Linked DNA regions of Homo sapiens: all the other regions are linked to region 4. Evidence: promoter capture Hi-C in 16 types of primary human blood cells and fetal thymus (Javierre and others, 2016). All regions are on one chromosome and are shown on one strand. Each heading gives the region's core, a stretch centred on a gene start or on the middle of the fragment in contact. The rest is flanking DNA. Distances are from core to core; before and after follow the strand shown. Region 1 has its middle 220 kb from the start of NXTAR. Region 2 overlaps OPHN1 (oligophrenin 1). Region 3 has its middle 230 kb from the start of NXTAR. Region 4 holds the start of AR (androgen receptor). Region 5 has its middle 200 kb from the start of NXTAR.

The links. The method cuts DNA at HindIII sites, captures the fragments that hold promoters and counts their contacts. A CHiCAGO score of 5 or more calls a contact.
Region 1: a contact is called between a fragment that was not itself captured here and the fragment with the promoter of AR in region 4, in 1 of 17 cell types (M2 macrophages). The highest score is 5.3, in M2 macrophages.
Region 2: a fragment that was not itself captured here is called in contact with the fragment with the promoter of AR in region 4 in 1 of 17 cell types (M0 macrophages); the score reaches 5.1 in M0 macrophages.
Region 3: a fragment that was not itself captured here is called in contact with the fragment with the promoter of AR in region 4 in 1 of 17 cell types (M0 macrophages); the score reaches 5.1 in M0 macrophages.
Region 5: a contact is called between a fragment that was not itself captured here and the fragment with the promoter of AR in region 4, in 2 of 17 cell types (M0 macrophages and M2 macrophages). The highest score is 5.2, in M0 macrophages.

What each region holds. Positions count from the first base shown.
Region 1 is chrX:67,998,581-68,003,850 of GRCh38, reverse strand. No RefSeq gene overlaps it. Among named protein-coding and RNA genes, the nearest start is that of NXTAR, 220 kb to the right of the region's middle. The HindIII fragment of the contact is 2,890 bases long and covers 253-3,142 here.
Region 2 is chrX:68,042,961-68,048,483 of GRCh38, reverse strand. OPHN1 (oligophrenin 1) reads left to right here. Exons shown (of 25, transcript NM_002547.3): 24 at 27-68; 25 at 1,321-5,523. The coding sequence ends at 60. Among named protein-coding and RNA genes, the nearest start is that of NXTAR, 260 kb to the right of the region's middle. The HindIII fragment of the contact is 2,882 bases long and covers 941-3,822 here.
Region 3 is chrX:68,015,300-68,020,505 of GRCh38, reverse strand. No RefSeq gene overlaps it. Among named protein-coding and RNA genes, the nearest start is that of NXTAR, 230 kb to the right of the region's middle. The HindIII fragment of the contact is 2,272 bases long and covers 965-3,236 here.
Region 4 is chrX:67,539,461-67,545,270 of GRCh38, reverse strand. It overlaps AR (androgen receptor), which reads right to left and starts at 1,250. Exons shown (of 8, transcript NM_000044.6): 1 at 1-1,250. The coding sequence starts at 124. The HindIII fragment of the contact is 7,103 bases long and covers 1-3,598 here.
Region 5 is chrX:67,982,883-67,988,814 of GRCh38, reverse strand. No RefSeq gene overlaps it. Among named protein-coding and RNA genes, the nearest start is that of NXTAR, 200 kb to the right of the region's middle. The HindIII fragment of the contact is 2,313 bases long and covers 3,428-5,740 here.

The DNA of each region.
Region 1 (5,270 bases), core at 448-2,947, 460 kb before region 4:
GTCAGGGGCTAGAAGAGGGATAACATTAGGGGAAATACCTAATGTAGATGATGTGTTGATGGGTGCAGCAAACCACCATGGCACCTGTATACGTATGTAACAAACCTACACATCCTGCACATGTATCCCAGAACTTTAAGTATAATAAATTAAATTTTTAAAAATCTCAGCATTTGCACCTATTTCTGACAAACTAGGTCTTGCTTATAGGATTGTAATGACCTCAGCATTTTGTCCATGTGAGGTCAAGCTTTAATTTTTACAAGATTAAATTTGGGATTAATGATGTGAGGAAAACATAAGTAGCAGGAGGAGTTTGTTAAGGGCAATTTGTCTTTTGAAATATTTAAAAGAACAGCCATTAAATTTTTGTCTAGAGAGTAAAATAAAGAATGACAAGTCCAGCAAAGTATTAGATTCAGAGCAGTAGCTATAGCCTGTGAAAAATATGTAAGTGGGTTTTGCTTTCTCTTAAGTGGTAGGAGATCATAGTGGTTGGAGGTAATAGGATGATGATAAGGGAGATCCCATTAGTATTTTAAAGGATACAAAAGTGGAAGAATAAGACGGATTAGTAGTAGAGGGAAAGGAAAAATGTTGAAGAATCAGAAAATTAATCTTTTTTCATTGTCCTGGGCAGAAACTGTCTATTTCTGAAGTCAGTAGATTCCAGGGGATTCCTAAGAATTCTCAGTTTATGATTTCTAGATGTAATGAATGTTTAGTAGTCTGGAGAAAAAAAATACAGATATTTTTGACCTGTGAAAGATGATGAAGCTAAGAATCTATACCTTGGAGTTTTATTGCTGTGTCAGTTGTTAACAGTATCTGATAAGATCATATTCATCAGGGCTCAAGGGCACAGTTTTCTGTAGTCTTTTCCAAGAAATTGACTCTCAAGGCTGCAGATCATGTAGAAGCTATTTAGGTGACTGTTTTGAAAATGTAGCTTGTACTTGATGGTAAAGGTGGAGGTATCATATGAGTCCCTTGAAGTGATTAATTATATCTGCTTGTAATATCAAATGCATAGTGTGGACCATTATTATTTTATGAGGAGATAACTTGTGGATCCCAGAGGAGGTTAATTTTGTTAGTATATTAAAGGTAATGGTAATACTTTAGGACATGAGAATTCAAGGGTTTCTGAGAGTGTTTTTAATTTCAGTTTTAGAATTCTATTAGTCCTTTCTATTTTTTCTAAAACTGTAGATAAAATAGCGAATATTCTGGTAAAAGGCAAAAATTTATAGAATTTCTTTCTTTCTTTTTTTTTTGAAATGGAGTCTCGCTCTGTCGCCGAGGCTGGAGTGCAGTGGTGCGATCTCGGCTCACTGCAAGCTCCGCCTCCCGGGTTCAGCCATTCTCCTGAGTAGCTGGGACTACAGGCACCCGCCAGCACGTCCGGCTAATATTTTTTGTATTTTTGGTAGAGACGGGGTTTCACTGTGTTAGTCAGGGTGGTCTCTATCTCCAGACCTCGTGATCCTCCCACCTCGGCCTCCCAAAGTGCTGGGATTACAGGCGTGAGCCACCGCGTACGGCCAAATTTATAGAATTTCTTAATAACATTACTAGTAAAATGGGCATCTCTGTCATTAGAGAGATAAATGAGAGTATCTCAGGTTGGAAAAGGAAATTAAACATTTTGGGAAACGGAAGTGGTCAATAAGATAGTAGCTCTCCAGCAAGGAAAAGTTTTAATAAACAAATAATGTCCAGAGAATAAACAAGTAATAACCAGAACCTATTAACAACCTATTTCAGGAGGCATTTATATAAAGTCCTTTTGAAGGTGTTTAATAGGCCCTCAGAAGGTTGTTTTCTGTCCATATTTCACCTCTCCAGTTTTACCAGAATTACGTTGTTGGCAGGTGGGACATATTTTGGAACAAGCTCTGAAACACCTCTAAAATTTCCCCAACAATGATAATTTAATATTGTTGCCAGCTTATCTTTGTTATTATAGGTAATGTCATGAAACATTTTTGCTAAATTCATTTTAAATTATTTGGTGCTATCAGTTGGATATCCTGAGAGAGCCAAATATTATATTGTGTGATGAGTATCTTAACTTTTTTCATTTCCTTTTTTTTAAATCAGAGACTTACCTCTCACAGTTAATAATAACTATTTTGAAAACAACAAAGCACCTAAAAGTACTTCAACTGGTTGTCTTATTTTTATTTTTTTGCTTTTAATCAAGGTTAAAAACTTTTTTGTTTCCAAAGTATTTTAGATTTCCAAATTGGTGGATGTATTGGACTGTTCTTTATAGCATTGCTATAAAGAACTACCTGAGACTGGGTAATTTATAAAGAAAAGAGGTTTAATTGGCTCATGGCTCTTCAGGCTGTATAGAAAGCATGGCTGGGGAGGCCTCAGGAAACTTTCACTCAAGGCGGAAGGTGAGGGAGAAGCAGGCACATCCTACATGGCTGGAGAAGAAGGAAGAGAGCAAAGAGGGGTGGTGCTACACAGTTTTAAACAACCAAATCTTGTGATAACTCACTATCATGAGAACAGCAAGGGGAAAATCTGCCTGCATGATCCAATCGCCTCCAACCAGGTCCCTCCTCCAACACTGGGGACCTCCTCCAGCATTGGGGATTACAATTTGACATGAGATTGGGGCAGGGACACAAATCCAAACCATATCAGTGAACTACTATCTATATAAATATTTATATCTACCATCATCTACTGTCTATGTAAATATTTGCTTTTGATTTCTCCCAGCTTCTAGGCCAGGGTAAAAGTAATTATTTTAGTCATCTGAGATAATTTAATTTCTGGCAATGGCTTATATTTTAAGAGTGAATTTAGGTCTTTCATTGCGGTTTTTAAAATGAGCACAAAAAACTAGGTCAGTGCTATCTAAGGGAATCTCAAAAAAATGATTTCAGACTATGCTAAAAGCACTGAGAGTTAATATAATCATGTAATGACAAAAAGGAACCTCTACTAATTTGGGCATAAAATAACATAGACATTTTATAGAAAAAATCCAAATTCTATTTTTCTTCTTTTGGTACATTATTTATTTAAAAATAATAGCAAAAGCTCTTTTAATAAACCTTTTTTAAATGCATTTAGGCATATTCAGACATAAAAGTATATAAATAGGTAATAAAGTAAAGCTTTATAGCTTTAAATATAATTATCTTCTTGGTAGATTAAAAATAATACCCATAATTAATCTATCATTTGAATGAACCATAATAACTTTTTAAAACTTAAAAAATAAATAGAAAATCACATCTATTTTCTTGTTTTCATACATGTAACTCTCAAGTACTGTACTCAACACAATCAATCATCTACATTAGTTACTATCTTTAATTAAAGTAACCTTTTTTTTTTTTTTTGCCACCACCACTGGTACAAATGCGTGTATGGATGCTGCTGTTCTGCTTCCACTGGTGCTCTGTCCCAGTTGATGTGTTTGCACTCTGCTGCAACACCGTGGATAATGGCATATGCACATGAGCACAGAACCTGCTGCCACTGCCCTAACAAAGTGTTTTGGCTAGCATCTTCCATCGGAGTGCTGTAGCGAGAGGATTAGACACATCAGCCTCTCCAGCACAGCAGGTTCCTAATCTTGAAGGGCCAGAGAACAAAGCCAAGGGCTCAGTACTAGCCCCTCAGTGTTAGAGCGTGCAGCCCAGGAGTGCTCAGCTGAGTCTTGGCCCCCTAAAATTTTCCATAAATGAACCCAATTGACTGAACCCACCTTATACCACAATCAAACATCCAAGGACATCAAAGAAGATAAAAGCAAAAAACCCCATCCAAAGGACAGCAACTTCAAACATGAAAGGAATGTTAGTCCACATAAATGAGAAAGAACCAGTGCAAGAACTCTGAAAACTCTAAAAGCCAGTGTCTTCTTACCTCCAAATGACAACACTACCTTCCCAGCAATGCTTCTTAACCAGGCTGAAATGACTGAAATGACAGACATAGAATTCAGAATATGAATAGGAATGAAGATCATGGAAATTCAGGAGATATTCAAAACCCAAGCCAAAGAAGCTAATGAACACAATAAAATGATACAGGAGCTAAAAGAAAAATGACCATTGTACCAAACTGATTTGGTAGAGCTGAAAAACTCACTATGGTAATTTCATAACAAAATTGCAAGTATTAACAGCAGAATGTACCAAGCTGAGGAAAGACTCATAGAGCTTGAAGACAAGTTCTTCAAATTTACTCAGACAAAAATAAAGAAAAAAGAATGAACAAAACCTCTGAGAAATATGAGATTATGTAAAGAGACCAAATTTACAACTCATTGGCATCTCTGAAAGAGAAGTGAAAGCAAGAAACTTCAAAAAACATATTTGAGGATATTATCAATGAAAAATTTCCCAACCTTGCTAGAGAGGCCAACATTTAAATTTAGGAAAGGTGGAAAACCCCTGTGAGATATGATACAAGAGACCATCTGCAAGACACATAGTCATCAAATTCTCCAACATCAAAATGAAAGAAAAAATATTAAAGGCAGCTAGAGAGAAGGGACAAGTCACCTATAAAAGGCAGCCTATCAGGCTAACAGTGGACCTTTCAGAAGAAATCCTACAAGCCAAAAGAGATGGGGGCCTATATTAAGCACTTTCAAAGAAAAGAAATTCCAACCAAGAATTTCATATCCAACTAAACTATGCTTCCTAAGCAAAGGAGAAATAAAATCCTTTACAGATAAGCAAATGCTAAGGGAATTTGTTACCATCAGACCTGACTTACAAGAGGTACTCAAGGGAGTGTTAAATATGGAAAATGAAGATGAGGGTTTGCCACCACAAAAACCCTTAGATACGTAGATCATTGACACCACAAAGCAACTACACAATCAAGTCTGCATAACAACCAGCCAACAACATGGTGGGAGGACCAAATCTGCACATATCAATATTAACCTTGAATGTAAACAGGTTAAATGCCTCAATTAAAAGGCACAGGGTGGGAAGTTGTGTACAGAAGCAAGCCACAACTGTATGCTGTCTTCAACAGACCCACCTGACAAGCAATGACACCTACAAACTCAAAGTAAAGGGATGGAGAAATGCCTACCAAGCAAACAGAAAACAAAAAAGTGCAAGGGTTGCTAATTTCAAGATTAAAAAAACAGACTTTAAACCAGCAATGGAGAAAAACACAAAGAAGTGCATTAATAATGACAAAGAGTTTAATTCAACAAGAATTAACTATCCTAACTATCCTAAATGTATATGGACCCAACATAGGAGCACCCAAATTCA
Region 2 (5,523 bases), core at 1,132-3,631, 500 kb before region 4:
AGTGAAACGTCTTTCTTTATCCACAGTTCTCAAGGCAGACTTCCTGGAGATGAAAGTTGAGGCTACAGGTATGCAGTCCCCATCCCTGATTACAAAATCTTGTTCCACATAAGCCTTCATTACGGGATCTGATATTTTGAGGACTGGAATAACATGTAGATCAGAAGGGTGGGAACTCACTTCTACGCCTCAGTTCATTACTCTATCACTGCCTGACCCTTAAATTTAGTGACTTTCAATTCCAAGGTTTTGTGTGATTTTAAGTAACCTTCCTCTTTCATTTCTTTTTCTCCTAGCCAAACTATGGCACGCTTTTACAGATTGCCTTTGAATCAAATTTATTAAGAATCCTAGGCTGTGACATTTTGGGAAAGTACATTTACTTCTCTGAGCCTCAGTTTCCCAGTTTCTAAAATGAGAAGGTTGGAACCTTCTAACTCTGACACCTCTCGGGCCTTTAAGGAAACCAGGAACATGCTTTCTGATATTATAACAGATGCCAAGAGGCTACCTTAGTGTCTGTAGATGGATTCATTCCTGCAGACCAAATCATTATTTCAGTCTTACCCACCTGAACCTTCATTCTTAGTCCTTTATGTTTGTCCAATGCAAAGCACTTTCACATTCATTATTTCATTTGATGCATATCACATGCCAGGAGAAGGGAGGATAATATGTGTTCTAACTCAACAAATAAAGGAACTGAAGTTCAGAGGGGATAAGTGACTTGCAAAGGTCACAGGAGACTCAGAGGTCAGGGAAATTCCTTTCTCTATCATAGGAGTTCTGATTGTTTGACTATCAGATTGCTGGCATGATGTGACCTGATAACACACATAAATGAGATCCAAGTATCTGGAGCTTGGCTTTTCATGTGCTCCCTAACCTTCTTTTTTTCCCTGTCACTGCCAGTCCTCAGAGGTCCGTGGGTAGATAAGCTTCTCCTTATCAGCCCCTATGGAGGTGAAGTCCCTGTTAAAAGGAAGTTTATAGTTATTGTATGACCATAAAGGCAGTGGGCATGATGTGGGAAGAAATCTCAGAGGTTCTAGTATCAGGCTTCTATTTCTCCATGTAGATTTTGGGGAGTTTGAGTTGAGGTCAAAGGCACAAAGTGTCCAGCCCTGGTCATAGCACCATCTTAGGCCTGTTTCATGAGATTTGACTTGTAAGAGCCTTTGCCCAGCAATCCGCTGTTGCTCAGAAGATGAGCTACCAATTATAGGCTTAGCTACCTACCAAGAGAAGCCCCACTGATCAGTGGCTGTTAAGTACTTGACCAGTCCTCGCTAATTCCCTACTCTCTTCTTTCTCTTTCAGGTTTTAAAAGCCTTGGCCTCAGAGGACCCTTTCCAGGTTCTGAAAGAGTCTTTCTTCTTCAAACCTTTGTGTGCGGAGTCATTTTGTGTTGAAGAGCAGCTCCTTCCTAGCCTTGCACTTTCAGACTCTCTCTGGGAGGCCATAAAATAAGGAGCATATGTCCTAGACAGGTGTTTATATCTCCTTTGTATTCTGTCTTCATCCCCTCAGAAGGTCTGTTTTGAGTTCCTATAACACTGTGAAGAGCTGGACTCCCTCAAGCCAGACTCTGCCAAAACCAAGATATCCACTTACCTGAGTTGAAGAGGGGAGCTCAGTTTTCAACTCTTCCCTGAACTTCCTGCTTCCTCAGAGGGCCATTGAACTCTGAGAGATTTGGGGCTAAAGACTGATCTCAGGGGTCTTACCTTGAACTGAAGGCCACTTGAGTTGGGGCCATTGCTTACCTTGGTTGGAAGGGAATAGAAATGTTTGCTGAACATTGGAGAATCTCAACATGTCTCCTACTGAGGATATGGACACTGGTGCCATGTCAGCGCTCTGGTGCTGCAGTATGTTGCCAAGAGCCCGTCTGCTCCTGCGAGGCTATGAGTGGGATGAGTGATGCCCCCACAGCACCTCCATGTGGACTTAGGAAGGTGGCCTTCCTGCTGTTACATGCAGCCACTTAGGACAAATCTGCAAAGCATGTTTTGCATGTAAAAGCCTAGGTCTATTTGGATTATTCTTTCTCCTTTTTTTTGACAGCTTCCTGTCAAGCAATCAAGAAACAAACAAAAGCTGAACACATTTCTTTTTAAAAAAAGGAGACTGTGTTTGGTCCTGTAGGAGTTCTATTTTGGGGTCAAATGCTAGAAAAATTGTTAAGGTGGATTGAGGCCAGGCAGCTGTCACTGCTGCTTCATGTTTGCCTTCTGCACATAAACTCTTTTATCTCCTGAAAAAAGCAGTTCTTAACCCAGTGTCCATGGACTCAGAAACTCCATGATGCCCCTGAGATGGTATGCACAATTCCATGACAATATGCCCTTTCTGGGGAGATAGTCCATAATGTTCTGCTAAATTTCAAATGGGCTCGTGACCCAAAAAAGTCAAGAACCACAGCACTTGAGTAAAATACTCTTTTTACAATCCATATAAGCCCTTGATTGGAAGGGCTTTTCAAAATCATTTAGTCTAACAACTGCCCAGTTTCCAGTCGGGGGAACTGAGGCAGAGCAAGGTAGTGATCACACCAGTACAAGATCTCAGGTCCCAGGCTCCTATGCAAGTTTTTTTTCCCCATTATATCACACTTATCTAGCAAGGGACCTTGTGGTTTGTGGCTTTAGTGGCCATCATTTCTGGGGGTTGGCTTTTACCCTTTTTCTTGAATATTTGCCACCAAGTGAAAAATGTTAGGACATAAACCCTTGCCAGGTCCCTTTCATTTGCTATCTCTATTATTGGAAAGGACCTAAAAATTGGTGTAATGGGGCAGAAATCTGAGGAATGGACATTTCTAATTCCTGTTTGTTGAAGGGAAGTTGCTGGAAAGAGCATCAGTACTTGTTTCTATGCAGATGCCTGGGCCGTAGCTTGTCTGTAGCGTCTGTATAATTATAATGTTGCCCAGTGTGAGGGAAAGAGCTTTCCTACTTGCACTCTTCTACCAAGGCCCTGTTAGTGCACTGATTATAGTACTGACAGATAAACCTAGATAAAGAGATAGAGAGTGAGTACATGCACACTCATGTGCAAACCCACTCAGAGATGCATTTGGAACAGTGCTACTGAAAGGCAGTAGTCATTTTCAAGACTGAATTCCAAACATGGTTTATTGGTGAGTTAGGAACATGTAAGGCCAAGTACACTGAGAGCCTTTTTGAAAGTAATTGAGTGGAAACTTGATGCCATTCTAAATCAAGGCATATCCAGGTGGCCCGGTTGAACTCACTCCACTGTACCCAGTCTCAAAGGCCAGGTTGCTAAGAAACCAGGAGTAAAAGAGTCAAGTGACCATCATTTCACCTGCTGCTTGCCCCCAATAGTAGTCTCTGTGAGGCCTTACTGACCTCACCTAGGAAGTGATTTTTGAGCCCTTGTTTCAGGGCTGTGGCCTCCCTGCTCTATCCTGAATAAAGCAGACAGGTGTGCAGATTTTGGCCATGAAAGCATGGCTAATAGGGCCACAGTCCCTTTAAAGAAACATGGTTTGACTCTGGTTTTCTTGGGGGAAAATACCACAATCACCGATGCAAACATTGGAAGATTATTGAGAGCCCTAGAAAGCTGCTGTGATCCCAGTAGAAAATATGTCCCAGAAATGTCATGAGATTGCTGTGTGTTGCCTGGGACACAGATCAAGGGCCTATCTTGGAGAGCTGGGGACCAGCAGTCTGCCTGGAGGCCAGGGAGCAGTGGCTGAGTAGCTCTGCCTTTGCTCTGGTCTATACCTTAAGAATGCCAAAGAATGAATTTCAACGCCTGCCTTTGGCACTCTGACTTAAAGTGCAAAAAGCTTCTGTGGCGAGGCATGCTATCATGGAATGAGACTGGCTTGCCCTAGGCTTAATGGATGGGCAGTCATTTTGCAGAGGCTATGGGAAGAGGGTGATAATAGAAGAGTGGCAGCTATAGGAAATTATCAACATACCTTGGCCAGCAAGTTAGAGAATCTGGCAATGGATGAACTGAAAGTGATGAACTGGCAGGGATAACAAAGAACCTAACATTTATTAAGCACGTATTTATTAACTGCTCAGTGTTTCATATTCATGCAAGTATTCTCATTTTACAGAGAAAGAAATTATGGCCCAGGGGGCTAAAGTAAACAACTCAAGGGCACATAGAAAGTAAATAAAAGGACTGTGATTTGAATCCAGGCCACTCTTAGCCCATGCTGTTTTCCCTTTGCCACACTGTGGTAGGTGTTTGAACAGAGGCCACATTACTAGAGTTGGCATGACTCTTGACTCTTGCCTGCCTAACAAAATATTGAAAGGCAAACATTTGAAGGAGGGAGGGGGTGCAGGTTCAGTTTATATGGAAATGCAAACTGGGCTGGAAGATATTCCTGAGTTAGGCTTTCTCTTCATATTCAGCTTGCACATTTGGTAATGTTTTTAAGATGATCATCTAATTTTATTTTGTGAAGTGAAGGATTTGTGTTTTAGTTGGCAGTTGTTAAGTCCTTGGCTTGCCATTTTTCAAAAAGTAAAAAGGTCCTCACAGGTGTCTCCATACTTCGCCAAGGTTGTAGCATGGGCAGTTTCAGTTTCAGCCTAAGAGACTGGTGACATCCACAAATGCAGTTTTAGAAGCAGAAAAGGTCTTGGTGCCTCTGCAGTACTTGATGTATTGGGGTCAAATCTCTACAAATTTTTCTGTGGTGATAGCAAAATCAAGAGATGGCTTACAAAAAGAAATATTGAATTTTTATTTTTGAAGTTTTTGTTTTTTAAAAGGTTGGGGGTGTTCAGCCACTGAGGGACAAAACTTAGCATCTAATTTCAATTATAGTGTCATGCAGAGTATTTCTAAAGTAATTGGTTATCATGGGAAAGTATTCTCTTTTCAAGAAGTTCTTTGATTCTGTAATAACTAGAACAAATAAAGTAGTAAAAGAAGAAATAGTTCTGTGACTAGGAAAAAATTGCTTTTGAGAGAACATAGATCAATTATACTACTTCTAAGGTAGCTGCAGATAAGTGGCCTTGACACATTACAAGCCTGGAAAAAAACATCAGAAATAATAAAAAATTTCAGAGAGAATCAAGATACCTTTTTTTTTCTTTTTTTTTTCTTTTTTTTATTATACTCTAAGTTTTAGGGTACATGTGCACATTGTGCAGGTTAGTTACATATGTATACATGTGCCATGCTGGTGCGCTGCACCCACTAATGTGTCATCTAGCATTAGGTATATCTCCCAGTGCTATCCCTCCCCCCTCCCCCGACCCCACCACAGTCCCCAGAGTGTGATATTCCCCTTCCTGTGTCCATGTGATCTCATTGTTCAATTCCCACCTATGAGTGAGAATATGCGGTGTTTGGTTTTTTGTTCTTGCGATAGTTTACTGAGAATGATGGTTTCCAATTTCATCCATGTCCCTACAAAGGATATGAACTCATCATTTTTTATGGCTGCATAGTATTCCATGGTGTATATGTGCCACATTTTCTTAATCCAGTCTATCATTGTTGGACATTTGGGTTGGTTCC
Region 3 (5,206 bases), core at 851-3,350, 470 kb before region 4:
ACGTAGTTGTGAGGTTCTGAGTGAGTTTCTTAATCCTGAGTTCTAATTTGATTGCACTGTGGTCTAAGAGACTGTTATGATTTCAGTTGTTTTACATTTGCTGAGGAGTGTTTTACTTCCAATTATGTGGTTGATTTTAGAATAAGTGTGATGTGGCACTGAGAAGAATGTATATTCTGTTGATTTGGGGCGGAGAGTTCTGTAGATGTTTATTAGGTCCACTTGGTCCAGAGCTGAGTTCAAGTCCTGAATATCTTTATTACTTTTTTGCCTCGTTGATCTGTCTAATATTGACAGTGAGGTGTTAAAGTCTCCCACTATTATTTTGTGGGAGTCTAAGTCTCTTTGTAGGTCTCTAAGAAGTTGTTGTATGAATCTGAGTGCTCCTGTATCGGGTGCATATATATTTAGGATAGTTAGCTCTTCTTGTTGCATTGATCCCTTTACCACTATGTAATGCCCGTTTTTGTCTTTTTTGATCTTTGTTGGTTTAAAGTCTGTTTTATCAGAGACTAGGATTGCAACCCCTGCTCTTATTTGCTTTCCATTTGCTGGGTGAATATTCCTCCCTTCCTTTATTTTGAGCCTATGTGTCTTTGCACGTGAGATGGGTCTCCTGAATGTAGCACACCAATGGGTCTTGACTTTTTATCCAATTTGGCAGTCTGTGTCTTTTAATTGGGGCATTTAGCCCATTTGCATTTAAGGTTAATATTGTTATGTGTGAATTTGATTCTGTCATCATGATGCTATCTGGTTATTTTGCACATTAGTTGATGCGGTTTCTTCATAGTGTCATTGGTCTTTATATTTTGGTATGTTTTTGCAGTGGCTGCTACTGGTTTTTCTTTTCCATATTTAGTGCTTCCTTCAGGAGCTCTTGTAAGGCAGGCCTGGTGGTGACAAAATCCCTCAGCATTTGTTTTTTTGTAAATGATTTTATTTCTCCTTTGCTTATGAAGCTTAGTTTGGCTGGATATGAAATTCTGGGTTGAAAATTATTTTCTTTAAGAATGTTGAATATTGGCCCCTGCTTTCTTCTAGCTTGTAAGGATTCTTCAGAGAGATCTGCTGTTAGTCTGATCCTACTTGGGAAATCCTCCTAGATATTTGAAAGGACTTGGATATTGGGATAAAAGCTGTATCTACTTTAGGGGGCACCCCAAGCTCAGTAATGCTGTGGTTCTTGCAGACTCATAGAGGTACCACCTTGATGATCTTGGAAACAATCTGGGGCAATTATCTGGATTGCTAGGCAGAGACTCTTGTTCTCTTCCCTTACTTTCTCCCAATCAAATGGAGTCTTTCTCTCTGTTCTGAGCCTTCTAAATTTGGGGTTGAAGTGACACAAGCACCTCTGTCACCACCACCACTACGAATGCACTAAGTCAGATCTCAAGCCAGCACAGCTCTGGGTCTTGTCCAAGGCCTGCTCTTACCACTTCCTGGCTACCACCTATGTTTGCTCAAAGTCCTGGGGCTCTATCACCAGCAGGTGGCAAAACTAGCCGGGCCTGTGTTCTTCCCTTCAGGGTGATGAAGTTCCCAAGGCCCCAGGTGGGTCCAGAGGTGCTGTCCGGCAGTCAGTGGCTAGAGTCAAAAACCTTAGAAATCTACCTGGTGTTCTATTGTACTGCAACTGAGCTGGCCCTCAAACAAGACACAGCTCTTCCCACTTTTTTCTCCCCTCTGCAAAGGCAGAGGAGCCTCATCCTGCGGCCACTGCCACCACATGGCCATGCGGAGTACTGCCAGACTACTGCTGATACTCCCTTTAGTCCCAAGGGCTCCCAAGTCAGCTTGTGGTGAATGTTGCCTGGCCTGAGACTCACCGTTCAGGGCAGTAGACTCCCCTGTGGCCCAAGACAGGTCCAGAAATGCCATGCCAGAGTCAAGTACTGGAATCGGGGACCACAAGAACCTGTTTGATGTTCTACCCCCTTGTGGCCAAGTTTGTACCAAAGGTGGAAGACAAAGTCCACTTTACTTTTCCCTCTAGTTTTCTCAAGCAGAAGGAGTTTCACTCTGTAGTCACCAGAGCTGAGAATGTGCTGAGTCTCACCTGAAACCAGCAAGTCTCAGAGGCTCTCCCAAAGCCCTCAACCTAGTATCTGGGTAGTGCTGCTGGTTATTCAGGGCCCAAGGGCTCTTCAGTTAGCAGGTGATGAATGCTGCCAGGACTGGGTTCTTCCCTTCAAGGCAGTGAGTTCCCTTCTGGCCGAGGGCATGTCTAGAAATGTCATCCGGGAGGCAGGGTCTGGAAAGGGGACTTCAGGACTCTGACTGGTGCCCTATCCTGCTGTGCCTAAGCTGCTATCTGATTCAAGACAAAGCTCTCCCCATTCTTCCCTCTCCTCAAGCAGAAGTAAGGGCAGTCTTTTGGAGCCATGAGCTGTGCAGCCTGGGGTTAAAGGACAGTGATGCCAGCACTTTCTTTCTTTCTTTTCTCTTCTTTTCTTTTTTTTTTTAGCTGGAGTCTCCCTCTGTCACCCTGGCTGGAGTGCAGTCACGCAATCTCAGCTCACTGCATCCTCTGCCTCCCAGGTTCAAGCAATTCTCCTGCCTTAGCCTCCTGAATAGCTGGGATTACAGGCATGCACCACCATGCCTAATTTTTGTACTGATGCCAGCACTTTCTTAGCAACCCCAGCTGGTGTCCTAGTATGCCCCCTCCAGTCCACTGTCTCTGGGCCCAGTTCAGCGCTAGGACTTGCTTAAGAGTTTCAGTCCTTGTAGCCTATACTGCCTTTCACGTTTATTTAGAGATCTAGAGCACTTTAACCCTCAGTGGCAAGGTTTGTGGGAACTTGAGTTCGGACCACTGGGATTGGCAATTCCCCTCTGGCTAGGGTTGCTTTAAATGCTCCCTTCACGTGTGGGCATCAGCTGAGTTTGGTCCAGTTTTCCTTTCTGCTCTAACAGGACAGCACTGAGTTGAATGCCTCACAATTGCTGTGCTCTCTCTCCTCCGGCACACAGAAATGCTCTCTGCATCATGCTGCTTCTGTCAGGGGTGGTGCCAGCAATTCAAGACCTTTTTTTTCTGTCTCTTCAGTGCCTCTTTCAGTGATATGAAGTTAAAACGAGGTACTATACTATGAGTGCTCACCTGATTTTTGGTTCTCATGAAGGTGCTTTTTTTGTGTAGATACTTGTTAAATTTGTGTCCTTCTTGTTGTGAAGATCGGTAGAGCCTTCTATTCTACCATCTTGCTCTGCCTCCTGATTCTGAAGCTTGATTCCTTTTTCTCTTTGTAACTTCAAAAATATTGAACTTTCCTCAGGGCTCAATTCTGGGCCCCTTCTACCTCTTCTATAAACAATCTTCCCAAGGACTTCTTACACACTCATGGCTTTAAACAGCCCTTTTTTTTTGCCAACAACTCTTATCGGGGATCCTACCCCATTATTCGTGTAGGTTCTTTCTATTTTCCCTAAGCGTTGGCCAGCTTGAGAAATAAAGGGACAGAGTACAAAAGAGAGAAATTTTAAAGCTGGGCATCCGGGGGAGACATCACATGTCGGTAGGTTCTGTGATGTCCCACAAGCCACAAAAACCAGCAAGTTTTTATTAGGGAGTTTCAAAAGGGGAGGGAGTGTGCGAATAGGTGTGGGTCAGACATCAAGTACTTTACAAGGTAATAGAATATCACAAGGCAAGTGGAGGCAGGGCGAGATCACAGGACCACAGGACTGAGGCAAAATTAAAATTGCTAATGAAGTTTCGGGCACCATTGTCATTGATAACATCTTATCAGGAGACAGGGTTTTGAGATCAACGGGTCTGACCAAAATTTATTAGGCGGGAATTTCCTCTTCCTAATAAGCCTGGGAGCACTATGGGAGACTGGAGTCTGTTTCACCTCTGCAGTCTCGACCATAAGAGATGACCATGCCCAGGAGGGCCAGTTTAGAGACCCACCCCCAGGTGTGCATTCTCTTTCTCAGGGATGTTCCATGCTGAGAAAAAGAATTCAGTGATATTTCTGCCATTTGCTTTTGAAAGAAGAGAAATATGGCTCTGTTCCACCTGGCTCACCAGCGGTCAGAGTTTAAGGTTATCTCCCTTATTCCCTGAACAATTGCTGTTATCCTGTTCTTTTTTCAAGGTGCCCACATTTCATATTGCTCAAACACACATGCTGTACAATTTGTGCAGTTAATGCAATTATTACAGGGTCCTGAGGCAATATACATCCTCCTCAGCTGACAGGATTAAGAGATTAAAGTAAAGACAGGCATAGGAAATAACAAGGGTATTGATTGGGGAAGTGATAAGTGTCCATGAAATCTTTACAATTTATGTTTAGAGACTGTAGTAAAGACAGGCATAAGAAATTACAAAATTATTAATTTGGGGAACTAATAAATGTCCATGAAATCTTCACAATCTACATTCTTCTGCCATGGCTTCAGCCGGTCCCTCCATTTGGGGTCCCTGACTTCCCGCAACAAACTCTCCAATTTCTCTCTCTAGCTCATTCTTATCTTCTGAGCTTCAGCTATACTAATTCAACTACCTGCTTGACATCTCCATCTCATTGTCTCCCTGACATCTCAAACTCAACATATTCAAAACTAAGCTCTTGATTTATTCTTTACTCTCCTAGCCCAAATCTACTCTTCCTTTATCTTTCTTATCTCAGGAAATGGTAGCTCCATCAACCTAATGGTTCATTCCAAGAGCCCTGGAGACCATCTGGACATTTTCCTCTCTCTCATTCACCACTTCTTTTCACGCAAAGTCTATTTAAAAAATGTGCACTCTGTCCTTCCCATGGCTATCATTTAAGCCTAAGCAATCACCATCTCTTGCCTGAACTATTTTAATAGCCTCCTAACTGGTCTCTTCATTTTCTCTCATCTCATCCTATTATAAACTCACCACAGGGCAACCAGATTGACCTTTTAAAAATGTAAATCAGATCATACCACTCCCCTGTTTAAATCTTTTAATGGTTTCCCATTTCACTTGAAATCCAAATCCCTTAAGATGGCCTACAAAGTTCTGCACTATCTCCAGAGATTATCTCTCTAAACTCATCTCACGACCTTATTTTCCTCATACTCAAACTCCAGCTACACTGGCCTTCTTCCTTTTCCTCAAACATCCTATTCTCCTGTTTCCCTCTCAAGATCTTAGCACACATCCTTTTGACTTGGACACTTTCCCTCTATTTCTTTGCATGTGTCACTTCTTATCTTT
Region 4 (5,810 bases), core at 1-2,500:
GGTGCCTGGGGCCCGGGTTCTGGATCACTTCGCGCACGCTCTGGAACAGATTCTGGAAAGCTCCTCGGTAGGTCTTGGACGGCGGCCGAGGGTAGACCCTTCCCAGCCCTAACTGCACTTCCATCCTTGAGCTTGGCTGAATCTTCCACCTACTTCCCTTACCCCGCCTCCCCTTCTCTTGCTCAGAAGAGTTCAACAGGCTGTGATGATGCGGTAGTCGCTGCAGCTAGCTGCCCACCTGCGGGAAGCTCCAGAGAAGGAAACTTGCGGGAGCAACCACGCAAAAAGCGCTCTGACAGCCTCAAAGTCTCGTGCAGAAGAAGACACACGGTGGACAAGATCTGCCCTGCTAGGCTCACAGTCTGTCTCTTAATACTTGAAGGGTAGATTCAAAAGATGCCCAGATCTTAAAAGAAAAAAACAAAATCCTCCACCTTCCAAATTCAGTGTCCACTGAAGTAGGTGCAAATAAGAACTGAGTTATTATCTTTTTCTTTTATTTCGGCTTTTTTGTTTTTGTTTGTTTTGTTTTTTGGCTACTGAAGACCTGACTGCCTTTTCATCTTTTGATCTCTGGCTCCGCACTCGGGGTGGGGAAGGCAGGAGGAGGTGGAGAGAGAGTGGGGGAAAACAGAGGGTTCTCTCCGCGTGCAGCCTAACCAGGCGGGTCGTGGCTGCAGTGCTGAAGCCGCTCCCCAGTCGCCTGGCTCCTAAGAGCCTTCTTTGCAATGTGCAGCTAGCTCGCCCGCTCGCAGCCAAAGGGAGTTACCTCTCTGCAAACTCGGGCTGGCAGCGCTGGGCCGACGGGGGCGGGGGGGCGGGTGGGGAGAAGGGTGGTGAGGGGGGTTGGCTGAGAGTAGCCGACTGAGGCAGCTGCGGGAGAGAAGACGGGGGAGGGGGGGAAGGCAGGGTGGGGGGAGGCGGGGTGGAGAGGAGGAGGACAAAGGCAGCCGTCAGTCCTACCAGGCACTTTCCTTGCTTCCTCCGAGTCTTTAGCAGCTTTTAAAAACTTCACCGAAGAGGAAAGGGCAGCTCCGGGCGGCGGCTTCGAAGCCGCCGCGCTGCAAGAGGCGTTGGCTGTCGCTGGAGCCGGGCTGGGGCTGGCGTGGTGCGTCCCTTCGGCTCCTGTACAGCACTGGAGCGGCTAGCTCGGCCCTTTTTCCCTCTGTCGCCTCCTCTGCCTCTGGGCTTGCTCCGGACCGTCCCGCTCTCCCAGCAAGCTGGCTCCCCGGGATCTCGGAGGGGGCGCTGGGAGGTGGAGAGCAAATGCAACAGTTTGCGAGTCGGGTCCCGCCCCCACCGGGCCGGCCTCCTTGCCTTCCCACCTCCTTTTCCCTCCCCTCCCCTTTCCTTTTCTCCCCTCCCCTCACCGCGCGCTAACGCCTGCCTAGTGGCTTTGGAGAAACAAGTGCTGGCGCAGCGTGGGCGAGGGCAGGAGAGGCTAGCTCTAGCCCTGGAGGACCCCTGCTTCCTGAATAGCTCCTGCTTTCCTAAACCAAGGTTTAGGCGCCAGGGCTCCAGATTTCCTGGAGGCCAGCACTCACCAAATTTGGTTCCAAAGCCCAATCTAAAAAACCAACAGGGTGGAGGCGAGGGAGGGAGGAAAAGGACGATAGGAATACCTGCTCCTGGCTGCCAGGGGTTCTTTTCAGGACTGATAAGAGCGCGCAGATGGGAGAGTGGGAGAGTCTCCTACAAACTGAGGAGCAAGCCATGACCAAGCCAGCAGATACTTGCTGAAACCTTAGATTCCGTCATAGGGATAGATCGGGCCTCGTGGCATTGTGCCATTTGCTCTAGGAACCCTCAGCCCCAAGAATCAGAGGTCATTTCTACCCTCTTCTCTGCCTTTCTTCCTGTCTGGAATTGCCTTTAACCATGCATTTCTCATCCAGACTCTCAAAGGCAAAATCACCCAGACAAGCAGGTAAACACACAAACACTAAAAACACTTGCCATGTACACATAGGCGCTCAATTTTGTCCAGAGCTCTGTAAACGTTTGCTTTGTATGCAGCCGCTTGCTTTTCCAAGTTGCCTTCGCATATTTTAAACTTTACAACTGGAACTATCCAAGGATAGAACCTATATAGGGCTGCTTTTCGCCTCTTGATGGACAGCCAGGCGTAGAGGATGATGTGGGTTACTGCAACTGCTCTTTTGTGGAGGAGGTCCCATAAGCCCTGTGTAAAGGTGGAGATGCAAGTGGGAATGGAAAGAGAGAGAAAATGTAAACGTAAACCTATAAGGAAAACATCTTTCCTTTATGTCAGTAGAGACCCTGGGCCTCCCTATGTTTTAAATTCCTTTGACTTCTGATTCTGGGGAGGCTCTCTGTTCCAAAAGTCATTCCGAGATTTTTGCCTGGGTCTCTTTTGCTTTTTGCAGTCTTCTACAGAGAAAAGATGGGTTGTAGCTTTGTTGTAGCTTTATCTTGTGCACAGCCAAACATCATAGGCATTTACTTACCTTGACCAAAGAAGGTAACTCAAACCTAAAGGCAAGGAAGACTGGATATGATAGGCTCTATTTCACAGATGAACAGGCTGAAACAAGGACATAATTTGTTCTATGTTCCACATTAGTAAAACCTAAACTAGTCTTCCAGTCCATTGCTATTTGAGCTAGACTCTAGACTCATCAATCGCATTGTCATTTGGGAAATGGCTATAAATGAACCTTCCAGAACACAAAGGCCTGAAGACCCTTTCACCTGAGGAGGTGAAAAATTATTTCCTGAGATTTTAATGGCTACAGCCTTCCTTGAATATACCTCACCATATGTAAGTAGAATGCGTAGATACTTCAACCTCATTTGAATACTCATTGCAACATTTAATCCCACCACAACTTTCAACTAGCATTGCTCAATAGGAATTGAGTGGGCTGGCAGGATGGTAGAATGGAATTAACATAGGTCTCAGAGCCAGGAGAACTATGTGTCTACACACTAACAGTGAAGGAAGGTGCAAAAATCACTGAATGAACAATGGACAGGAGTGAAGAGGACACATAGACACAAAGAGGCCTGAAAAAAAATTAAGGTGAGAAATAATGCTCTGAAGTTACTCTGAATAAAAAGCAGTCTGACATTCAAACCTGGGTCTGAAAGACTCCAAAGTTTATGTTGCTTCCACATCACCAACATTGTCTTCACAGTTTCCACATCTGAAAACTGTTGCCAATATAAGTTACCCTCAGAAGGCTAGTGTGTCATTTAAAAGACATAATGTGTATAGAACAAACTTGTAAACAGGAAAGCATTCTACAAATCTGAAGGATTACTATGTTATTTTTATTTTTAAAGATGGTGCTGTCAACAATTATATCATTATCAGGAAAGGTTAACTACTATAAGCATATTAGGGCCATATACTTTATTTGGATTTTGAACTCTGATCTTCCAGCTCAAATCTCATTTTCTTCCCATTGCTTTTAAGAACAAGAGACAATTATTGATTAATATTATATAAGTTCACTGTTTGTACCAGCTTTCTTCTTCTTTCTCCTCCTGTTCTTTGCAGTTTTTTAGTAATCAAATGGAACCAGAGGTGTTCTCTCAGATTAGTCAGGTTGAGAGTAAGTTTCTGCTATAAGCTTCCTCTGCAACTTCAAGAGGGATTTATTAATAAAGTCTTCCCTAGCTCTTTGCTCTGGAAAGCCAGGATGAGCTGACCTTTGGAAAATGGTGACCATCGGGTTTTATTTCCTAAGTATCTCACACATCTGCCCATTTATTTCATCTCTGTTGTTGCCAACCTAGTTCACTTCCAGAAGGCACCGTTCTCTTCCACCTGGAGCACTGTAAATGGTCATCCTCCCTCCACTCTTTCCTAGAATCAGTTCTGCATTGTGCAGCCAGAGGGTTTCTTTTTAATAGCCGTACTGAGGTATAATTGATATATACAATAAACTGCACATATTTAAAGTTGCATAAATTGATCATTTTTGACACACGCGTGCACTCATGAAATCATCACTCAATCAAGATAGTGAATATATCTATGATTCCAAAAGTTTTTATTGTGCCACTTTGTACATTTTCCCTCCACCTCTCCTATACTCCTCCTCCTCAGGCAACCAATGATCTGCTTTCTGTCAGTATAGACTGTTTTTCACTTTCCAGAGTTTTATGTCAATGGAACTATACAGCATGTACTCTTTTTTTTTTTTACTTGCATCTTTCACTGAGCACAATGCCTTTGATGTACATTTAAGCTGTTATGTATATCACTAGCTCATTCTTCTTTATTGCTAAGTAGTATTCTATTGCATTGCTGTACCACGCTTTGTTTATCCATTCACTTTTGATGGACATTTGGGTTCTTTTCAGTTTGGGGCTACTACAAATAAAACTGCTATAAATATTTGTATAAACATCTTTGTATGGATGTATTCTTTCATTTCTCTCAGGTAAATACTTAGCCATGGAATGGGTGAGTCACAGGGTAGGTATACACCTACTTTTGTAAGAAACTTCCAAATCATCTTCCTAAGTGATTGTATCATTTTACATTTCCACTTCACCAATACTTGGTATGGTCAGTCTTTTTAATTTTAGTATTCTAATTAGAGGTGTCTTTCCCATTTAATTTTTATTTCTCCCATGAATAAAGATGCAGAGCATTTTTCATGTGCTTATTTTACAATTGTATACTTTCTTTGATGAAGACTGTAAATTTTTTCTCTTTTTTTTTTTTTAATTGGGCTACTTGTAATTTATTATGGGGGTTTTAGAGTTATGTATTCTGAGCACAATTCCTTTATCAGAAATATGATTCAACAATATCTTATCTGTAGTTTGTCTTCATTATCATACCAGTGTCTTTTGAAGCACAAACATTTTAAATTCTGATGAAGTCCAGTTCATCACTTTGTTCACTTATGAATTATGTTAACTTACGGATTATGGTGTCAGATATAATAAATCATTTTCAAACTCAAGATCACACAGATTCCCATCTGTGTTTTCTTCCAGAAGTTGTATAGCTTTCAGTTTTACATTTAGGTCTGTGATCCATTTTGAATTAAGTTTTGTAGACAGATACCCAACTTTTAATATAGATGTCCTATTGTTTTGGCACCATTTTTTGAAAATACTATTCTCTCTCCACTTTGTTGCCTTTGAATCTTTGTCAATAATTAACTCTCAATATATATTTGCATAGAGGGTTTTTTAGAAAGTTTAATCTGGTCATATTATTTCCCCGTTTAAGTCCTGTCACTGTCTCCCCATTGCTCTTAATAGAAAAGTCCAAAACATTAACCATACCCCACATGATCTGCCTCTCTGATCTCATCTCATACACCTTTCCTCCTGTTTTCTGAGATCCACTTACACTGGCCTTTATTCAGGTCCTCCAACGACTCCATAATCCTTCCTGCCTTTGCATATTCTGTTCCCTCTACCTGCAATGTTGGTTCATCCTTCTCTCTATTTATCTAGTTAATGCCTATGCATATCAGCACATCCAGGAAGACTTCCTGAACCACCTAGGCTAGCTCAAGTCCCTCACCCACTCACCTTTTAATATATTTTAATAGCACCCAGTATTTGTTGGAGGACTTCTCACAATCTGTTTTCCTCACTGAACTGTATGTTTCCTAAGAGCAGGAATCATGTTGGTTTTTGTTCATCATTGAATCCTTAGGACTCAGCCTGGTGTGGGACATGGTCATTGTTTAATAAATATTTTTTGAATAAATGAATGGATTTTATTTTCACAGAATTAAAATTCTGTTTCCAAACTGGGAGTTTTGGTTTTGGGGGGTTGCCAAATGCCCTGTGATTTCAGCATATTTAGGTATGTA
Region 5 (5,932 bases), core at 3,335-5,834, 440 kb before region 4:
ACATACATATATAGGTGTACATATAAATATCAACATATGAATATATATATATAGAGGCACTTAGGTCAATTCTGTATCTTCGCAATTGTGAATTATGCTGCAATAAACATATAAGTGTCTTTTTTTGTTTAACGATTATTTTTCCTTTGGATAGATATCCAGTGGGGGATTGCTGGGTTGAATGATAGTTCTATTTTTAGTTCTTTGAGAAATTATGATGCTTTCCATAGAGGTTGTACATTCCCACCAGCAGTGTATACCTGTATGGTTGCCTTTTCTCTGCATCTGTGGTAACACCTTTTTTTTTTTTTTAACTTAAAAAAAATGGTCATTCTGACAAGAGTAAGGTGGTATTTCACTTTGGTTTTAATTTGTATTTCTTTTGTAATTAGTGATGTTGAGCATTGTTTCGTATGCTTGTTGGCCATCCGTATAACTTAGGAAATATTTATTCATGTCACTTACCCAGTTTTTAATGGAATTATTTGCTTTTTATTCTTGTTGATTTGTTTGACTTCCTTGTAAATTCTGGATATTACTCTTTTCTCAGATGCATAGTTTGTGAGTATTCTCTCCCATTCTGTAGGTTGTCTGTTTACTGTGTTGATTATTTCTTTTGTTATGCAGAAGCTTTTTAGTTTAAGTCCCATTCATCTATTTTTGTTTTTGTTGCATTTATTTTTGGGGTCTTTTTCATAAATTTTTTGCCTAGGCCAACGTCTACAAAAGTTTTACCTAGGTTTTCTTTTAGATAGGGTTTCAGGTCTTAGATTTAAGTATTTAATCCATCTTGAGTTAATTTTTGTATATGGTGAAAGACGTGGATCAAGTTTCATTCTTCTGCATGTGGCTATCCAATTTTTCCAGCACCATTTATTGGATAGTGTGTCCTTTTCCCTGTTTATGTTTTTGTCTGCTTTGTTGAAGATCAGTTGGTTGTAGGCATTTAGCTTCATTTCTGGGTTCTCTATTCTGTTTCATTGGTCTATGTGTCTACTTTTATACTAGTACCATGCTATTTTGGTTACTGTAGCTGTGTAGCATAATTTGAAGTCAGGTATTGTGATGCTTCCATATTTATTTGTTTGTTTTGCTTAGGATTACTTTCACTGTGTGCGCTCTTTTCTATTCCATACAAATTTTAGAATTTTTTTTCTAATTCTGTGAAAAATGATATTTGTATTTTGATAAAAATTGCATTGAATCTTAGATTGCTTTGGGCAGTATGGTCATTTTCACAATATTAACTCTTTGAATCGATGAGCATGGAATGTTTTTCCATTTGTTTTTGTAATCTATAATTTATTTCATCTGTGTTTTGTTGTTCTCCTTATATAGATCTTTCATGTCCTTGGTTAAGTATATTCCTAGGTATTTTGTTTTATTGTTAGCTATTGTAAATGGTATTGAGTTCATGATTTATTTTCAGCATGGTTGTTATTTGTATATAGTAGTGCTACTGATTTTTGTATTTGAATTTTGTAACTGAGACTTTACTTAATTCATATGTGAAACCTAGGAGTCTTTTGGAGGAATCTTAAGGGTTTTCAAGGTATAAGATTTTATCTTTGGCAAGGAGAGATAGTTTGATTTTCACTTTTCCATTTGGATGCCCTTCATTTCTTTCTCTTGCCTGATTGCTCTGGCTATGACTTCGGGTACTATGTTGAATAGGAGTTGTGAAAGTGGGCATCCTTATGTTGTTCCAGCTCCAAAGGGGAATGCTTTCAACTTTTCTTCATTCGGTTTGATGTTGGCTGTGGGTTTCTCATATATGGCTTTCCGTTTTTGAGATATGTTCCTTCTATGCCTAATTTGTTGAGGGCTTTTTGTCTTTATCATGAAGAGAGGCTGGATTTCATAAAATCCTTGTTCTGCATCTATTGAAAAATCATATGGTTTTTGTTTTTTAAATTATGTTTATGTGGGGAATCACGTTTGTTGATTTGTGTATGTTTAGTCATCATTGCACACTGGAATGAAGCCCACTTGATCATGGTGAATTCTTTTTGATGTGTTGTTGGATTTTGTTTGCTAGTAGTTTGTTGAGAATTTTTGCATCTATGTTCATCAGGGATCTCGGTTTTCTTTTCTTCTTGTATCCTTTCCTTCTTTGGTGTCAGGGTGATACTGGCTACATTGATTATGGAGGATTCCTTCCTATTTTATCTTTTGGAATAGTTTCAGTAGTGTTGGTAAGTAGCTTGTCTGGTAGAATTTGGCTGTGAATCTATCTGATACTTGGCATTTATTTGTGGGAATATTTTTAATTACTAATTCAATCTCACTACTTCTTGTTTAGCTCAGGATTTCAATTTCCTCCTGATTCAAGCCTGGGAGTGTGTTTCCAGGAATTTATCAATTTTCTCTAGATTCCCTAATTTGTATTCATAGAAGTCTTGGATGATCTTTTGTATTTCTGTGGTATTGATTGTAATGTCTCCATTTTCCTTTCTAGTGGAGCTTATTTGAATTTTCTCTCCTCTGCTTGGCTAATCTAGCTAGTAGTGTATCAATTTTGTTTATCTTTTCAAAACACAAACTTTAAAAAGTTGGTTTTTTGTAATTTTTTTGTTTCAATTCAATTTAGTCCTGCTCTGGTATTATTTATTTTCTTCTGCTCACTTTGGGTTTGTTTTGTTATTTTCTATTTCCATGAGATGTGATGTTAGGTTGTCAAATTGTAGCCTTTGTGTCTTTTTGACATAGGTACTTAGTACAATGAACTTTGCTTTTATCAGTGCTTTTGCTGTATCCCCAATATATTGATAACTCATGTTGCTGTTATCATTGATTTTGAAAAACGTTTAAATTTTCATCTTGATTTCATCACTGACCCAAAGATAATTCAAGAGCAGATTGTTTAATTTTTGTATATTTGTATAGTTTTGAGAGTTCCTCTTGGAATTGATTTCTAATTTTATTCTGCTGTGGTCTGAGAAAGTACTTGATATCATTTTTAAAAAATTTATTGAGACTAGTTTTATGACCTATCATATGACGTATCTTGGAAAATGTTCTATGTGATGATGAGAAGAAGAATGTATTGTCAGGCCTCTGAGCCCAAGCTAAGCCATCATATCGCCTGTGACTTGCAGGTATACATCCAGATGGCCTGAAGCAACTGAAGGATCACAAAAGAAGTGAAAATAGCCATTTCCTGCCTTAACTGATGACACTCCACCATTGTAATTTGTTCCTGCCCCACCTTAACTGATTGATTAACATTGTGAAATTCCTTCTCCTGGCTCAGAAGCTCCCCAACTGAGCACCTTGTGACCCCTGCCCCTGCCCACAAGAGAACAACCCCCTTTGAGTGTAATTTTCCACTACCTACCCAAATCCTATAAAACGGCCCCACCCCTATCTCCCTTCGCTGACTCCTTTTTCGAACACAGCCTGCCTGCACCCAGGTGATTAAAAAGCTTTATTGCTGACACAAAGCCTCTTTGGTGGTCTCTTCACATGGACGTCTGTGACATGTATGTTCTGCAATTTTTTTGATAGAATGTTATATAAATGTTTGTTAGGTCCATTTGTTCTAGTGTAGTAGGACGAGCTGCAGACAAAACATCTCAGACACCGAGCTGTAGAAGGAAGGGCTTTATTCAGCTAGGAGCATTGGCAAGCTACTGCCTTAAAATCCGAGCTCTCCAAATGCACAATTTCGGTCCCTTTTAAGGGCTCGCAACACTAAAGATTTCTCATGAAAGGGTCGTGATTAATTTGAGCAAGCAAGGGGTACATGACAGGGGCTGCATGCACCGGTGGTCAGAGAGAAACAGAACAGGGCAGGGAGTTTCACAATGTTCTTCTATACAATATCTGGAATCTATGAATAACATCGGTTTCTAAGTCATGAGTTGATTTTTAACTACTAGGTTTAGGCCAGGCAGGCCCAGATCCAGTTTTGGGCCTGGCGCCGGGCTGCCTGTCTTTGATTTCACTTCCTTGTTTTTTTCTTAAAACAAGCATTGAGTATAAAACAGTATAAAACAATATAAAACAATATGAGAGTGTCTCTCTCTTCCCTCACTAGAGTCAAGTTTAAGTCCAGCATTTTTTTATTCGTTAATTTTCTGCTTCAATAATCCATCCAGTGTTGTCAGTGGAGTCTTGAAGTCCCCCACTATTATTGTTTTGCTATCTATCTCTTTTCTTAGGTCTAGCAGTATTTGTCCTGTAAATCTGGAACTCTGGTGTTAGGTTTATGTATACTTAGGATTGTTATATCTTCTTGTTGAATTTATTTACTTATCATTATATAATGACCTTCTTTGTCTTTTTTTAAAATTTGAAATCTGTTTTGTCTAATAGATACTTCTGCTTAATTTTGATTTCATGTGTATGGAATATTTTTTTCCACTCCTTTACCTTGGGTCTGTAAGAATCTCTATGAGTTAAGTGGTTCTCTTGAAGTCAGCAGCTATTTGAATTATGGTTTTTAATCCATTCTATCAATCTATATCTTTTAATTGGGGCATTTATACCATTTACATTCAAAGTTAATCTTTATATGTGAGGTACTGTTACAGTCATCAAGTTTGCTATTATGTATGTCCTTTGCTTTTCCCATTGTGTTACTGTTTTCTAAGCCCTGTCATTTTTTATATTGGTGTGTATCAATCTTTCATTTTCATATTTAGAGCTCCTTTGATTATTTCTTGTAGGTTTGGTTTAGTGGTGGCAAATTCCATCAACTTTTTCTTTTCTTTTTTTTTTTTGTCTGGGAAAGACTTTATTTCTTCTTCATTTGTGACACTTAGTTTTGCAAAATACAAAATTCTTGGCTGACAGGTTTTCTGTTTGAAGAGACTGAAGATAAGCCCCCAATCTTTTCTGGCTTGTAAGATTTCTGCTGAGAAGTCTTCTATTTGTCTGCTAGGTTTTTCTTTATAAGTTATTTGTTGCTTTTGTCTCACTGCTTTTAGAATTCATTCCTTTACATTGACTTTAGATAGCCTGATAACTATATGCTTTGATGATGTTTAAGCCACCAAAGACTCTTTTTACAATGTAAAGGTTCTTTTTACAATGTAAAGATTCTTTTTTCAATGTAAAGATTCTTTTTACAATGAATCTGCCAGCAGTTCTCTGAGCTGTTTGTATGTGGATGTCTAAATCTCCAGCAAGACCAGTGAAGTTTTTCTCAATTATTCCCTCAAATAGGTTTTTCAAATTTTGGCTTTTTCTTCTCCCTCAGGAACATCTATGATTCTTAGGTTTGGATGGTTTACAGAATCCCATATTTCTCAGAGACTTTGTTCATTTATTTTATTGTTTTTATTTTTGTCTTATTTGGTTAATTCAAAGAACTTGTCTTCAAGCTCTGAAATTCTTTCCTTTATTTTGTCTAGACTATTGTTAAAATTTTCCCCTGCATTTTGTAATTCCCTAAAACAGTCTTTAATTTCCAGAATTTCTATTTTTTTTTTAAATCGATCTCTTTGGAAAAAATTTTATTCATACTCTGAATTTTTTAATTTTTCTAAAATTTATTTTGGAGGCTCCAATGATCCTCCCACCTTGGCCTCCCAAAGCAATGGGATTCCAGGCATGAACCACTACGCCTGGCCATTTTTTTGATCTCTTTATATTGGTTTTCAGCTATCTGTTGGATCTCCCTGAGCAATTTTATAATCAATCTTTTGAATTCTTTGTCTTGAATTTCAAAGATTTCATTCTGGTTTGAATTCATCACTAGAGAATTTATGTGATCTTCCAGGGGTATTGTAAAGCTTTGTTTTTTCATATTACCAGAATTATTTTTCTGCTTCCTTCTCACCTACATAGACTATTTCTTGTTATTTTTGAAATCATTTTTTTCAGCTGGGGTGTTTTCCCATTGAAGAAGATGTGACATTAATATATATAGTTTATGATCACCTAGGTTAGACTCTGGGTTCTTTCAGTGGAAGTCTGCATAAATTCC